Linked DNA regions of Homo sapiens: regions 2 and 3 are each linked to region 1. The links are contacts of gene promoters, found by promoter capture Hi-C in blood cells and fetal thymus (Javierre and others, 2016). All regions are on one chromosome and are shown on one strand. The core of a region is centred on a gene start or on the middle of the fragment in contact, and the rest is flanking DNA. Distances in the headings are between cores, read along the strand shown. Region 1 holds the start of WARS2 (tryptophanyl tRNA synthetase 2, mitochondrial). Region 2 overlaps CD101-AS1 (CD101 antisense RNA 1). Region 3 holds the start of ATP1A1 (ATPase Na+/K+ transporting subunit alpha 1).

Region 1 (4,089 bases), core at 1,214-3,713:
AGATACATTGAATAATATATCTTTCCCCGAGGAGTCATGGTTACCATTATTAAAAACTTATTAAAATACGTTAAATATACTGAGCTGAATATATTCCTCCTCTTAGAAGATGGTGAGCTTTGTAGTCATACTTTCCCCAACACCAAAATGCTTACTGTGAAAAAGTACAAAAGTAGACAGAACTGGTTCATTTTTAATACATCCTGTGTCTTTTCTGTTAACTGTTCCTTCTGGCTGTTAAAAGCATAACAATTGCTGACAATAAGCTGTGTAATTTGTTAAAATCCAATTTACTTTTAAAAGAGGTGCCTACTCTGCATAAGAGACTATTCTAGGTGCTGGGGGAGATGTTAGAAATATAAACTATAGTCCTTGTCCAAGAAGCAAGGCTGGCTGAGTGACACCTGAGAGTTACCAGGTCACCGCCACGGTGCAAAACACAGTTTATTACTTCTAACAAAGTCTAAAAATTAGCAAATATTTTCAATTTTAAAAATCAGGATACTAAAGTTATAAAACTTGTGGTCTTAAAGTCCCACCTTTTTTAGTGGGACTATGTCTTGGAAATACCTCCCACGGAAATATTATTGGTCATAGGAGTCTGCAGATACGACTAAGAACTACTTCTTGAAGAAATAAAGTAGGTACACCCTTTGACAGCTTTTGGTGCACCATAGTCTTATTGCTAGGTTTTATCTTGCTATCTAGATGACTAAAGATGTCAGAAAGCTAATCTTGCTAATTGCTAGGGTCATGTAATCTCATTAATAAAATATATGTAAAACACTGTACTATAATGCTTTGCTCTATGTATGAGTAAAACATGTAGGGCATTTATTAAACTGCATTTTACAAGGCATAACATATATCCCCCTTCCCCTGGCAAGGTTTGTTTCCAGGGTCTCAGTAATATCACATTCTTTGGGTTCTACAACACCTCTTGGCTCCTTTATTTCCATCATCTGGCTACTTTCACTCCACAAACTCTATCTGATGGTCTCAAGGATTTCCTTGGTTTCAATTACCATCTGTTTGGTAGTTCAAATCTCTTCTGAGCTCCAGACCCATGTATCTATTTAATGGGCATCACATTTTGGAAGTACTACAAGCACCTCAAATTTAACAGCCAAAACCAAACTGATCAGCTTTGTTGAAGACTATAACTTGATTTCCTAGTTTTTTTTTTGCCTTCATCCCTTTCCTGCTCACTTCTAAATTACACCAATTATACTTGAACTTCACCAGTACTTTGTATACCTACAAGATTATCCTATATGGTTTTAATTTACTGTTTTGTCTTACCCTGGTAGATTTCAGCTCCTTTATAGGCATCTCTTATCTCCTACCTCTCCTTGGTAATTTTCAGTAGCTGGATGAATTATAAACAAAACACATAAAGGAATTGTCATGAATTTCTTCCAGTTATATTTTTACTGAAACACTCGTTATCTGTCTGGGAGATTTTTAGGTGAATTAACAGAAGCAGAAAAACTGTATTAAACTTTCTCATAACCCCAAACAAAACAATTTCTTCCATCAGGTATAACCTTCCTGCAGCCTTCCCTAGACTAGGTTGAAACACCACAGTCATAACCACTCCTCCTTAAAACTTGCGGTGCTTGCTTCTTTAACACCTATTAAGTGTACATCATTTATTTATCCGCTACTCTATTAGACTGTACACAACTTGAAGACAAGATATGTCTTTCTCTGTACCTTCAGTGCCCAGCACATTACGGTAGGGTTCAACAAAGTTTACAGGACGAATGAAATAAGGCCACATAAGTCCAGTGCGGTGGCACATGCCTGTAATCCCAGCACTTTAGGAGGCCGAGGCAGATGGCTTGGCTTGAGCTCAGGAGTTTGAGAGAGCCTGGGCAACATGGTGAAACCCTGTCTCCACCAAAATACAAAAATTAGCCGGGCGTGGTGGCGCACCCTTGTGGTCCCAGCTACTCAGGAGGCTGAGGCAGGAGAATAGCTTGAGTCTGGGAGGTGGAGGTTGCAGTGAGCCGAGATCGCGCCATTGCACTCCAGCCTGGGCGAGAGTGAGACCTTGTCTCAAAGAAAAAAAAGGGAAATGAGGCCACACATGTCTAAAAAGACCACTTATATTACCCTCTAAGAGAACTGGGAGTTTCTAAACAAACTTTTTAAAGGTTGCCTTCACATAGCTAAGATCAGAAATGCAGCCTACTTGACTTTCTTCCAGTCTAAAGCGTTGCTACTAATAACCCCCAAGGAAATTCTCCTTCCAGGAAGGCTGAGCAGACAAGGGATCCAGGGAAAAACACTAAAGCCCCACCCCGCTCCTGTCCCCACCTGCTCGGCAAGAACTGCAGTCCGCCCGATAGCGGCTGCGCTGCGCAGCCTGGAGGCCCAAGCCGCGCCCAGCAAGCAGGAGTCGCGAGACTGGGATTGGCTCTCTGAACAGACGTCATTCCAAACAAGACGGCTCCGCCCTTCTCAAGATGGCGCTGCACTCAATGCGGAAAGCGCGTGAGCGCTGGAGCTTCATCCGGGCACTTCATAAGGGATCCGCAGCTGCTCCCGCTCTCCAGGTAACCAAAGACGGCCCTTCCCTCCGCGGCTTCCCATCCCGCGAGGTTCTTCTCATCCCACTGCCCTCTATTTATTTCTCTCCTCCCGCTTCTTAGGGAAAGTACATGCCTTCCCTCGCCTAAGGTCTACTCGTCTATGACTGTCGGCCTGCTCAGAGCGTAGTGACGTTGCAAGGATACGTGATGACGTAAAGGTTTCTTGGTGGAAAAAGCGCGCCGCTTTCTGACCTCTTGCCGCCACCTCCAGTTCTGGGAGCGGAGCGCCGCCGCTGTTGCCGGGCAACGCGGTGAGCCTACCCCGCGTGTGATGTTTTCAGAGACGGGTTGTTTTAGAGACTGCTCTTCTTGTGGTCTTATTACTGTTTTTACCCTCCTTACCCTAACAACACGCTAAGGGGCTATCGGAGAGAGTAGAGAAGTTTTGTTAGGCATTGGGCAGCTTGGGTCGGGGCAGCAGGTTGGCAGTGTGGTACTTGAGCAAGTGTCAGTGCATCTTCCATTCTGGTTGCTCCTGGTGGCTCCACAGCACTGCTCTATCTAGCAGGCTGTGAAAGAGTGACCGCAAGCTGCTACAGAGTTTGTCCTGTCCTGCGCTTGACAACACTGCTGTTACCATTAATCTCGTCGTACGGAGACCATGTCGCGGCCTGGTCTTATTGGGAATTGTCTTAAATATTTGGAATTTTACCCTCATAGCAAAAAAGTCAGGGGGAGGGGATACCCTTTCAGTTATTCAGGATTTTACCAAACGTCTTCCAAGTACAGTCTCAGTGGCAAGCACTTTGACATACTTTATCTACGGGAGATATATTCTGGGAACTAGAGAGAAAGGAGAGAATGTGATTTTATTAGGTAATTTCCCGGCATCATTTGCATATGTATTGCCATAATGAGTAGGTGTGAGGATGTCGCACCTATTGTAACTGTTGTGTTGAAAACAGCGCTAGACAGGAAGGTAGCCTAGAGGTCAAGGGTTTGGTCTGCCACTTGACAGCTGTGTGACAAGTCACAATCTCTCTGGGACTTTTCTTCTTTTTTTGCTCATATTGAGTGGAGGAAGAGAGCTGGACTGATTGACACGTTAATGTTCTTTCAACCTCTGGAAAATCTATAGTTCCATGATTATGAAGCCAAAACAAAGCCAATGAGAGTAATTATGAAAACCAAAATTTAAGTTCAACTTATTTTTCTAGTCATGTCATAAATTTTTTGAACTTCCGTTTTTTATTAATGTGAGCCTCACAAAATTCTTATAAGCTAATATATTAATATATACCGGAAAGCTGCTTGTCAGCAAACAACTATTCAAATGTCACCTTAAATTTCAGCAGCAATGTTAGGTAAGACAATTCAAAATTAGATAAATTTATCAAAAATTCCTCTCCTTGAAATTTGAGGGTTTGATTCTGCAGAACTAGAATGAGATGATTATTTATAATTTATAGCACATTAACACCTATGCTATCAAAGTAGCTAAGCCGTAGACCCAAACTTCCCCTTATTCCAAACTAAAGAATTGAAGATGTCT
Region 2 (3,889 bases), core at 1,357-3,856, 2.1 Mb after region 1:
AAACTCCATCTATACAAAAAATAAAAAAATTATCCAGGCTTGGTGGAGCATGCCTGTGGTCCCAGCTACTTGGGAGGCTGAGTTGGGAGGATCACCTGAGCCCAAGGAGGTCGAGGCTTCTGTGAGCCATGATTGAACCACTGTGCTTCTGCCTGGATGACAGAGTGAGCCCCTGTCTCAAAAATAAAATATAATTCTGGGGTAGCACAGACACTCATTTTATTTTTATTTATTTTTCTTTTCTTTTTTGAGATAGTGTCGTGCTTTGTCACCCAGACTGGAGTACGGTGGTGTAATCATAGCTCACTCTAGCCTCAACCTTTCAAGCTCAAGCAATCCTCCCACCTCAGCCTCTGGAGTAGCTGGGACCACAGGTTTGTGCCACCACACCTAACTAATTTTTTGATTTTTTTTTTTTTTTTTTTTTTTTTTGTAGAGAGGAGGTCTTGCTGTGTTTCCCAGGCTGGTCTCAAACTACTAGGCCCAAGCAGTCTTCCTGCCTCAGCCTCCCAAAGTGCTGAAATTACAGGTGTGAGCCAACACACCCAGGAACAAGTCCAACCCCACAAAAGTGGAGCTTAATTCCTAGGAAAATGAAAGAATTATACTTTCTGTGGTCAGCATTGTGCTGGCTGGCATACATTAAACATGTCAGACCTCCATAAGATACCAGTGGTGAGAGGATGAGCTAGAACATTCACCTTTTGACATCTCGGTCACTACCTTATTGTTTTAAAATAATCAGCAATTCCAAGTTTCAAGTGATTTGTAAAATTCTAGCGGCTATGCTTTATTGATTATTTTTTAAATTAAATTGTTCAAATTTATGTTTCAAATGAGCAGATCATTCTAAGAATCATATTTACTTTTCTGAACTTCTGGTGTTTTTGCTTGTTGCTTTGGGATAGGATGGGAAGGAGTAATTTTAATTGGCAGATAAAAGATTGTTCCCTATTAGGCACATTCTGAGAGGGAAAGTCATATTCTAACTTTTCCTGAGGTGTGTTCTGAGATAGTACTTTTATATGCATTGTCACATTTAATTGTCACAACTAGCCTAGGGATGGGATTTTTTATCCCCATTTTTAAGATGAAGATACTAAAGTTTAGAGCAGTTAAGGAGGTGGCCCCAAGGCCAACTTACCTTACAGAGCTGCTCCTAAAACTTTGGAACCGGATAGTCCCCATGGATTAATTTTGACCTGGCTCAAAGTCACAAAGCTGACAGCAGCCAATCAGGGACTAAAGGCCATTTTTCAGAACTTTCAATCCAGTTCTTGCCACTATAGTATTTTTTCTTCTTCTTCTTCTTCTTTTTTTTTTTGAGACGGAGTCTCGCTCTGTCGCCCAGGCTGGAGTGCAGTGGCGTGATCTCGGCTCACTGCAACCTCCACTTCCCAGGTTTAAGCAATTCTCCTGCCTCAGCCTCCCAAGTAGCTGGGATTACAGGCACCCACCACCACGCCCAGCAATTTTGTGTATTTTTAGTAGAGATGGGGTTTCGCCATGTTGGCCAGGCTGGTCTCGAACTCCTGAGACCTCAGGTGATCCACCTGCCTCGGCCTCCCAAAGTGCTGGGATTACAGGCCTGAGCCACTGCGCCCAGCCTATAGTATTTTTATAAAGCATAAATTATTCAGCAATGCATTCAGATATTTAACCCACACATCGGTAAGTGTTTAGGTATTTGCTGTGGTGTAGAGACATGGCTCAACAAATCCAAGACAAAAACCAAAAACCCAAGTCCTGCCATTTTATAAATGACCACTAGGTAGCAGCCTAGTAACATAAAAACCAAACTGAGGCCCACCCTCCTCTGTTTCATTCTTTTTGTTTGAAGATATATAATGGTAATTCAATTTCATTTCATTTCATTTTGTGCCTTTCAAACATATGACTGTTTTCAACTTGTCCTTTGACATAGGCTCGATCAGGATGATACTATAGTGAGAACAAATGTGGTTATAATTTGTAAAGCCAAGAGACTTTACAAATTATTTTGTTATACCAATATTTTTTCAGTACTAGATTCCAAATTTCACTGTTCTTAAAATATTATTCCAAAAGTGGTTCAATGCAGGCTCTTTATCTTCTTCTTTTTTTTTTTTTTTTTTTTTGGTAAATGTACAGGTATTTTTTTCAGTTGGAGTCTTGTCTGTTACCCAGGCTGGAGTGGAGTGCAATGGTAGGATCTTGGCTCACTGCAACCTCCGCCTCCTGGGTTCAAGTGATTCTCCTGCCTCAGCCTCCTGAGTAGCTGGGATTATAGGCTTGTGCCACCACGCTCAGCTAATTTTTGTATTTTTAGTAGAGATGGGGTTTCACCATGTTGTCCAGGCTGGTCTTGAACTCCTGAACTCAGGTGATCCACTCGCCTCGACCCCCCAAAGTGCTGGGATTACAGGCTTGAGCCATCGCGCCCGGCCACAATTCTTTTTTTTTTTTTTTTGAGACAGAGTCTCACTCTGTTGCCAGGCTGGAGTACAGTGGCATGATCTTGGCTCACTGTAACCTCTGCCTCCTGGGTTCAAGTGACTCTCCTGCCTCAGCCTCCCGAGTAGCTGGGATTACAGGTGCCCGCCACCACGCCTGGCCAATTTTTGTATTTTTAGTAGAGATGGGGTTTCACCCTGTTGGCCAGGCTGGTCTCGAACTCCTGAACTCAGGTGATCCACCCGCCTCGGCCTCCCAAAGTGCTGGGATTACAGGCATGAGCCATCACACCTGGCCCACAATTCATTGTTTAAGTAAATTTATAAAGTTGTGCCATCACCACCAGAATCCAGTTTTAAAACATTTCTATCACTCAAAAACTTTCCTCAAAGCTGTGTGCAGTCAATCCCAACTGCCACCCCCAGCTAGTCCCAAGGCAACCTCTGATATGCTTTCTGTCTTTATAAGTTTGCCTTTTCTGGACATTTCATATAATGGAGTCATGTAATATGTAGTCTCTTGCCTCTGTCTTCTTTCACTTACATAATGCTTGTGAGGTTTACCCATGTTGCACATGTATCAGTATTTCACTCCTTTTTATTGCTGAGTAATATTCCATTGTGTTCATTCACCAGTTGGTGGACATTTGGATCATTTTCCCTTTGGAATTATTAGGAATAATATTGCTATGAACATTAATGTTAAAGTCTGTTTTATTGTTTTTGTTTTTGTTTTTTTGTTTTTTGTTGTTGTTGTTTTTGAGATGGAGTCTTGCTCTGTCACCCAAGCTGGAGTGCAGTGGCATGATCTTGGCTCACTGCAACCTCCAGCTCCCAGGTTCAAGCAATTCTCCTGCCTCAGCCTCCCGAGTAGCTGGGATTATAGGCTCGAGCCACCACGTAAGCTAATTTTTATATTTTTAGTAGGGACAGGGTTTCACCATGTTGGCCAAGCTGGTCTCAAACTCCTGACCTCAGGTAATCTATCTGCCTCAGCCTCCCTAAGTACTGGGATTACAGGCATGAGCCACCGCACCCGGCCTAACGTTAAAGTCTTTATATGAACATTTGTTCTCATTTCTCTTGGGCAGATAAACCTGTGAGTGGAATTGCTAGTTCATATGGTTAGTTTGTTTAACTTTTTAAGAAATTGCCAAACCACTTTCCAAAGTGGCTATACCATTTTATATTTCCACCAGCAACGTATGAGGGTTCCCAGTTCTTCATGTCCTCAACAATGCTTGTTATTGCGTGCCTTTTTTAGTAGGTATGAAGTGGTATCTGACTTTTGTTTGAATTTTGATTTTTCTATTGATGTGGCACTCTTTTTCGTGTGCTTTTTAGCCATCATCTTCCTCTTTTTAAATGGTCTTGAAAGTCTTTTTCCTTTAACGTTTGTATGGAACTTAAACCTAAGTTAAAATGACATTAATTGTTATTAATACAAAGACATAAAA
Region 3 (3,868 bases), core at 1,333-3,832, 2.8 Mb after region 1:
AATTAGCTGCCGGCACAGGCTTCCTTGTTAGCCAATTATCAGCAGGGCTTTAGTCACTCTCCACCCACATTTTAATCCCCATGTGGAAAAATCCCAACATGAAATATTCTTCTGAACATTTGGACGCTCACAATAAGTCACAGGACAAACACACACACAAACACACACACAAGTAAACTAATGTTTAATGTATCAGAATACTCAAAATGCTAACTACCACCCAGCAGCCAAGCAGCTCATCATCCCAGTGTTCGCAGCTGTAATTTAATCTTGTGTTTGCTAGCCACTATACATTTTGTTGTAAGACATCTGGGTTTAAGCTCTACTAACTATTCAGGTGGGTTACCACCGCATCACTACTGTGCATGTGTGCCTGTGTGTGGTTATAAAGGAGACATCTAGATAAATGGACATAACTTAGTTACCCAAACCATCTCCATGGCCTATTAATTCAACATCACAAATACCCCGTTTCATCCGAAGTTCTGAGTTCTGTATAAAGAACTCAATGTTAAAGAGTAAATGCATGTTCAGGCTTGAGGCCACAGGCTGTTCAAGAATCAGGGACGCCTAGTCTGTCACTAGCCAACCGTTTGACCTTGAGCAAGTCACTTCACCTTCCTAGGCTTGGGGCACACATCTGTGATGTCTAAACCCCCCAAAATTAGCTCAGGAAGTAAACTTTTTTCTTTTTCTTTTAAGGCAGGAGAGACAAAGAATGAGCTTTAAAGTGCATGTTTACAGAAATGATCAAGGGTTTGACGGTGTGGTAAAAGCACAGGCCACTAACCCAGACTCCATCAGGGGAATGGAGAGGCCCTGTACTCCGCTCTTTGATGCCACCTGACCTGGACCAGCCCTCCACGCTGCATGCTTTTAAAAGCGAGGCGAGTTGTGCATTTCCACTTGTGCCTGTTCTCCCCACCAGGTCCAAGCCTTTCAATTACCTCCTTTAAAACTCCCTTAGAGTCCCCAAGGAGTGCAGCCTCCCTCTGCTCCCGACACTCTGTCTACACCCAGAAGCCTCAGGGCCTTCAAAGACCTACTCAGTGTCTGCACTGTGCTAAACCCTGGAGACAACGAAGTGGATTCTCTCCCATTTGTATTCTCATGACATGGTCACTTTCACCCCATGAACTCCGAGGTTATTCTGTGTAAATTTTTCTCAACTAGACTTTGGCTCATTTGGGGTCCAGGGCCCAGTCTCCTGCACGGGTAATAGCTAGGGGTAATCAAGTCTTCGCTACAGAAATGTAGGACAGCGGCGTTGTGACGATATTCCCACCACGCTCCGCGCCGCTCTCCAGCCCCAAGACCCCTCGTTTCCTTCAGGGACCGCCCTTTGGTGCTTCCGCGACGCTGGAAACCGGCAGAGATTCCTACCACCGTATTGCCTGCAGCCTCCAGTCCTTTTTCGGGTTTCTTGTACCCTGAGGCCCTGGTGGGTCTGCCTATCCTCCTTCAGGGCTCGTCCCTTCAAAAAAAATCTGCACGCCTCTCCCCACCATCGGATGACAACTCCAGTTGCCATCGGTGCATCCTGTGTTTACGGAAAGTGGCCCAAGAAAGCCCTCAAAAGTATACCTTAAAGGCCATCTTAGGGCAGTGAAGACACACCCTTTCTGGCACCAGCCCGCCCAGCCGGCTTCGCACTTAGAAGCAGCCAGTTTTTTCTTTGGGGGAGGGCGGCCGCCTCTGCGCGGAGCAAGCTAAGCCCCAGCGTCCCCAGGAGAAGGAGCCCCGAACCCGGAGGCTGCCCCCGCCGGAACCGGGGCCGCGGCGGGAACGGAGGCCCGGGAGGAGGCCCCGGCGGAGCGCCCCAGGGGAAGGGGAGGAGCGCGCCTTTCCTCAGGGCACGGAGGGCGGAGGGAAAAGGAAGGAGAAGGAGGTGACGGCGGTCGCAGGGAGGGGAGCCAGGCTCAGGGATGCCGGCTCAGTCCCGGGGCCGCCCCCGCTGCTGCAAGCCCCCTCCTCCCGGCCCCGAGGCTTCCCAAGCACCGCCTCTCGGAGCCCCCGGCCCGCTCGGCCTCCGGGGCGCGCAGCCCCCGCCCAGGGTCCGCCCACCCCCCTAAGCAATGCCGCGCTCCAGCCCCTCGGCGCTCCCTTCCCCCGCCCCCCGTTACTGCGCTCCCTCCATTTCCAAACTGCGTCGTCTTTTAAGCCGCGCGGCTCTGCCAGCCCACTCCACGCGGCGCCGCTTCCTCCTCCGCCGCCTCCCGCTGGCCGCGGTCGCCCTCCCGACTTCCTCCTCTTCCCCTCGAGGGCTCCCCGAGCCCCCTCCCCGGGCGCGCCGGACACTCACCCCCTTCCCCATGGTGGCGGTGCTCAGTGCCCGGCGCCGGGTCCTGTCGCTGGAGAATCAGAGAGAAAAGCACAGAGCAGCTCCCGGCCGAGCGAGCGGGACCAGGGGAGCCAAGTGGAGGGAGCTAGGGCTGCCGCGGGGCGGGAGGGTGGGAGGGCGGCCGGCGGCTCGGGCCGATGCCGCCGCCGCTGTTGCTGCCGCCGCCCGGGCTGCTACCGCTGTTGCCACGTGTCCGCCTCCTCCCGCCGCTGCTCTGCGCCCCAGACCCCGCCGCAGCTCCAGCCCGCGCCTCCTCCTCACTTCCTAAAATATGCAACCTGCGTGCTGGCCCCGCCCACGCCGCGAAACGTCACCGTTACCGGAGCAACCTGACACCGGCCGTGGGCCTGGCTCCGCCCCCTCCCGAAACCCCGCCCACGGGCCCGGACAGCGCCTGCTGCGGCCAGTCCTGGCTCCCGGCAGGAGGGCGCCCAGGTCTGGGACAAGCGTGTCCACCGTGTCCCGGGAGGGCTGCGGGGCGCTCCTGCTGGCTGAACAGCGGGGACTCGGCGGCCTTGGCCCTCCCACGCCCCTCCTCCCGCTGCCCTGCATGACCCGCCTACTATGTAGGGCCCAGGAGGTCCGCAGTGGGTGCGGTACGGTCTCGGAACTGGGCTCCCCCAGTCGCCGCCGACCCGGCACCAGAAGTCGTGGGCGGAACGGCTTTTCCAGCGCTTCGGCGATCTCCTCTGGGACTCAGGGATGCTGGAGGGGGCTGGCGCTCGGGTGTGATTGCAGCCAGCGCCTGACTGAGGGACTCCGCCCCTCTGTGGAATCCAGGCCCCGCGCCCACCTGCGGATGGCCTCCCCGGGCGCTTGGTGCTCTCAGAGTGCCTCCTGTGACTTGGGGTCCTCTTTATCCACTTCCCGCTCCGTCATAGCTGGAATCGATCTGAACTGGCATCGCCAGAAGTTTCAAGCGCCCTCCTCCCACCACCTCTCTTTCTTCGAGATTCCAAAATGAGAATCTGAAGGGCGACCAGCGAATTCATTCACGCTATTGTGTGAATGTAACCTGCTTGTCCAGTTTGGGGATTCTCTTTTTAGGGAAGAAAAACCTGAAACCCAAAGGAATGCGTATCCTTAGCTAGAGGAGCTAAATCAAGGGGGAGGCGTTTGAGGACTTGCCAGGTGCCTCTCCACGCCTCCACCTGTCACGGCAGCATCTCCAGCACAGCCTTGGGTTCTCTGGGGGGGCCCAGGAAACCACCACTCTCCCCGGAGATCCCTGGTTCCACTGCACTTTGGGGCTTCTCTGTCATTATAGCTTTTGCTTCTTAGCAAGAGGCTGCAATGGCTGAAGTTCTCCAACATTTTAAAAAACAAAGTATTATTAACAAGGTTTGCAGGAAGTCAAGTACTCTGGGAAAGGCCAGGATATTGACTTTCTAAGCAAAGGTTCCTAAGTTAAAGCCAACTCTATCAACTTCAAGTATTCATGTAGCATGAACAAACAAGGATATGAAACTGGAAAAAATGGAGAAGGAAGGAAAGAAAGGAAAAACTAGAAACTGTGTTGTCAGTTAC

The links. The method cuts DNA at HindIII sites, captures the fragments that hold promoters and counts their contacts. A CHiCAGO score of 5 or more calls a contact.
Region 2: a contact is called between a fragment that was not itself captured here and the fragment with the promoter of WARS2 in region 1, in 1 of 17 cell types (total B cells). The highest score is 6.0, in total B cells.
Region 3: the fragment with the promoter of ATP1A1 here is called in contact with the fragment with the promoter of WARS2 in region 1 in 1 of 17 cell types (total B cells); the score reaches 5.7 in total B cells.

The regions. Positions count from the first base shown.
Region 1 is chr1:119,139,027-119,143,115 of GRCh38, reverse strand. It overlaps WARS2 (tryptophanyl tRNA synthetase 2, mitochondrial), which reads left to right and starts at 2,463. Exons shown (of 6, transcript NM_015836.4): 1 at 2,463-2,561. The coding sequence starts at 2,472. WARS2-AS1 (WARS2 antisense RNA 1) reads right to left here and starts at 2,720. Exons shown (of 7, transcript NR_125975.1): 1 at 2,323-2,720; 2 at 1,303-1,369. RefSeq lists an enhancer at 2,382-2,691. The HindIII fragment of the contact is 7,742 bases long and covers 1-4,089 here.
Region 2 is chr1:117,053,412-117,057,300 of GRCh38, reverse strand. The region is part of intron 1 of CD101-AS1 (CD101 antisense RNA 1); the gene reads left to right. Among named protein-coding and RNA genes, the nearest start is that of CD101-AS1, 4.1 kb to the left of the region's middle. The HindIII fragment of the contact is 6,290 bases long and covers 1-3,889 here.
Region 3 is chr1:116,371,958-116,375,825 of GRCh38, reverse strand. ATP1A1 (ATPase Na+/K+ transporting subunit alpha 1) reads right to left here and starts at 2,582. Exons shown (of 23, transcript NM_000701.8): 1 at 2,303-2,582. The coding sequence starts at 2,314. RefSeq lists an enhancer at 1,206-1,325 and silencers at 1,696-1,995, 2,426-2,955. The HindIII fragment of the contact is 4,966 bases long and covers 1-3,868 here.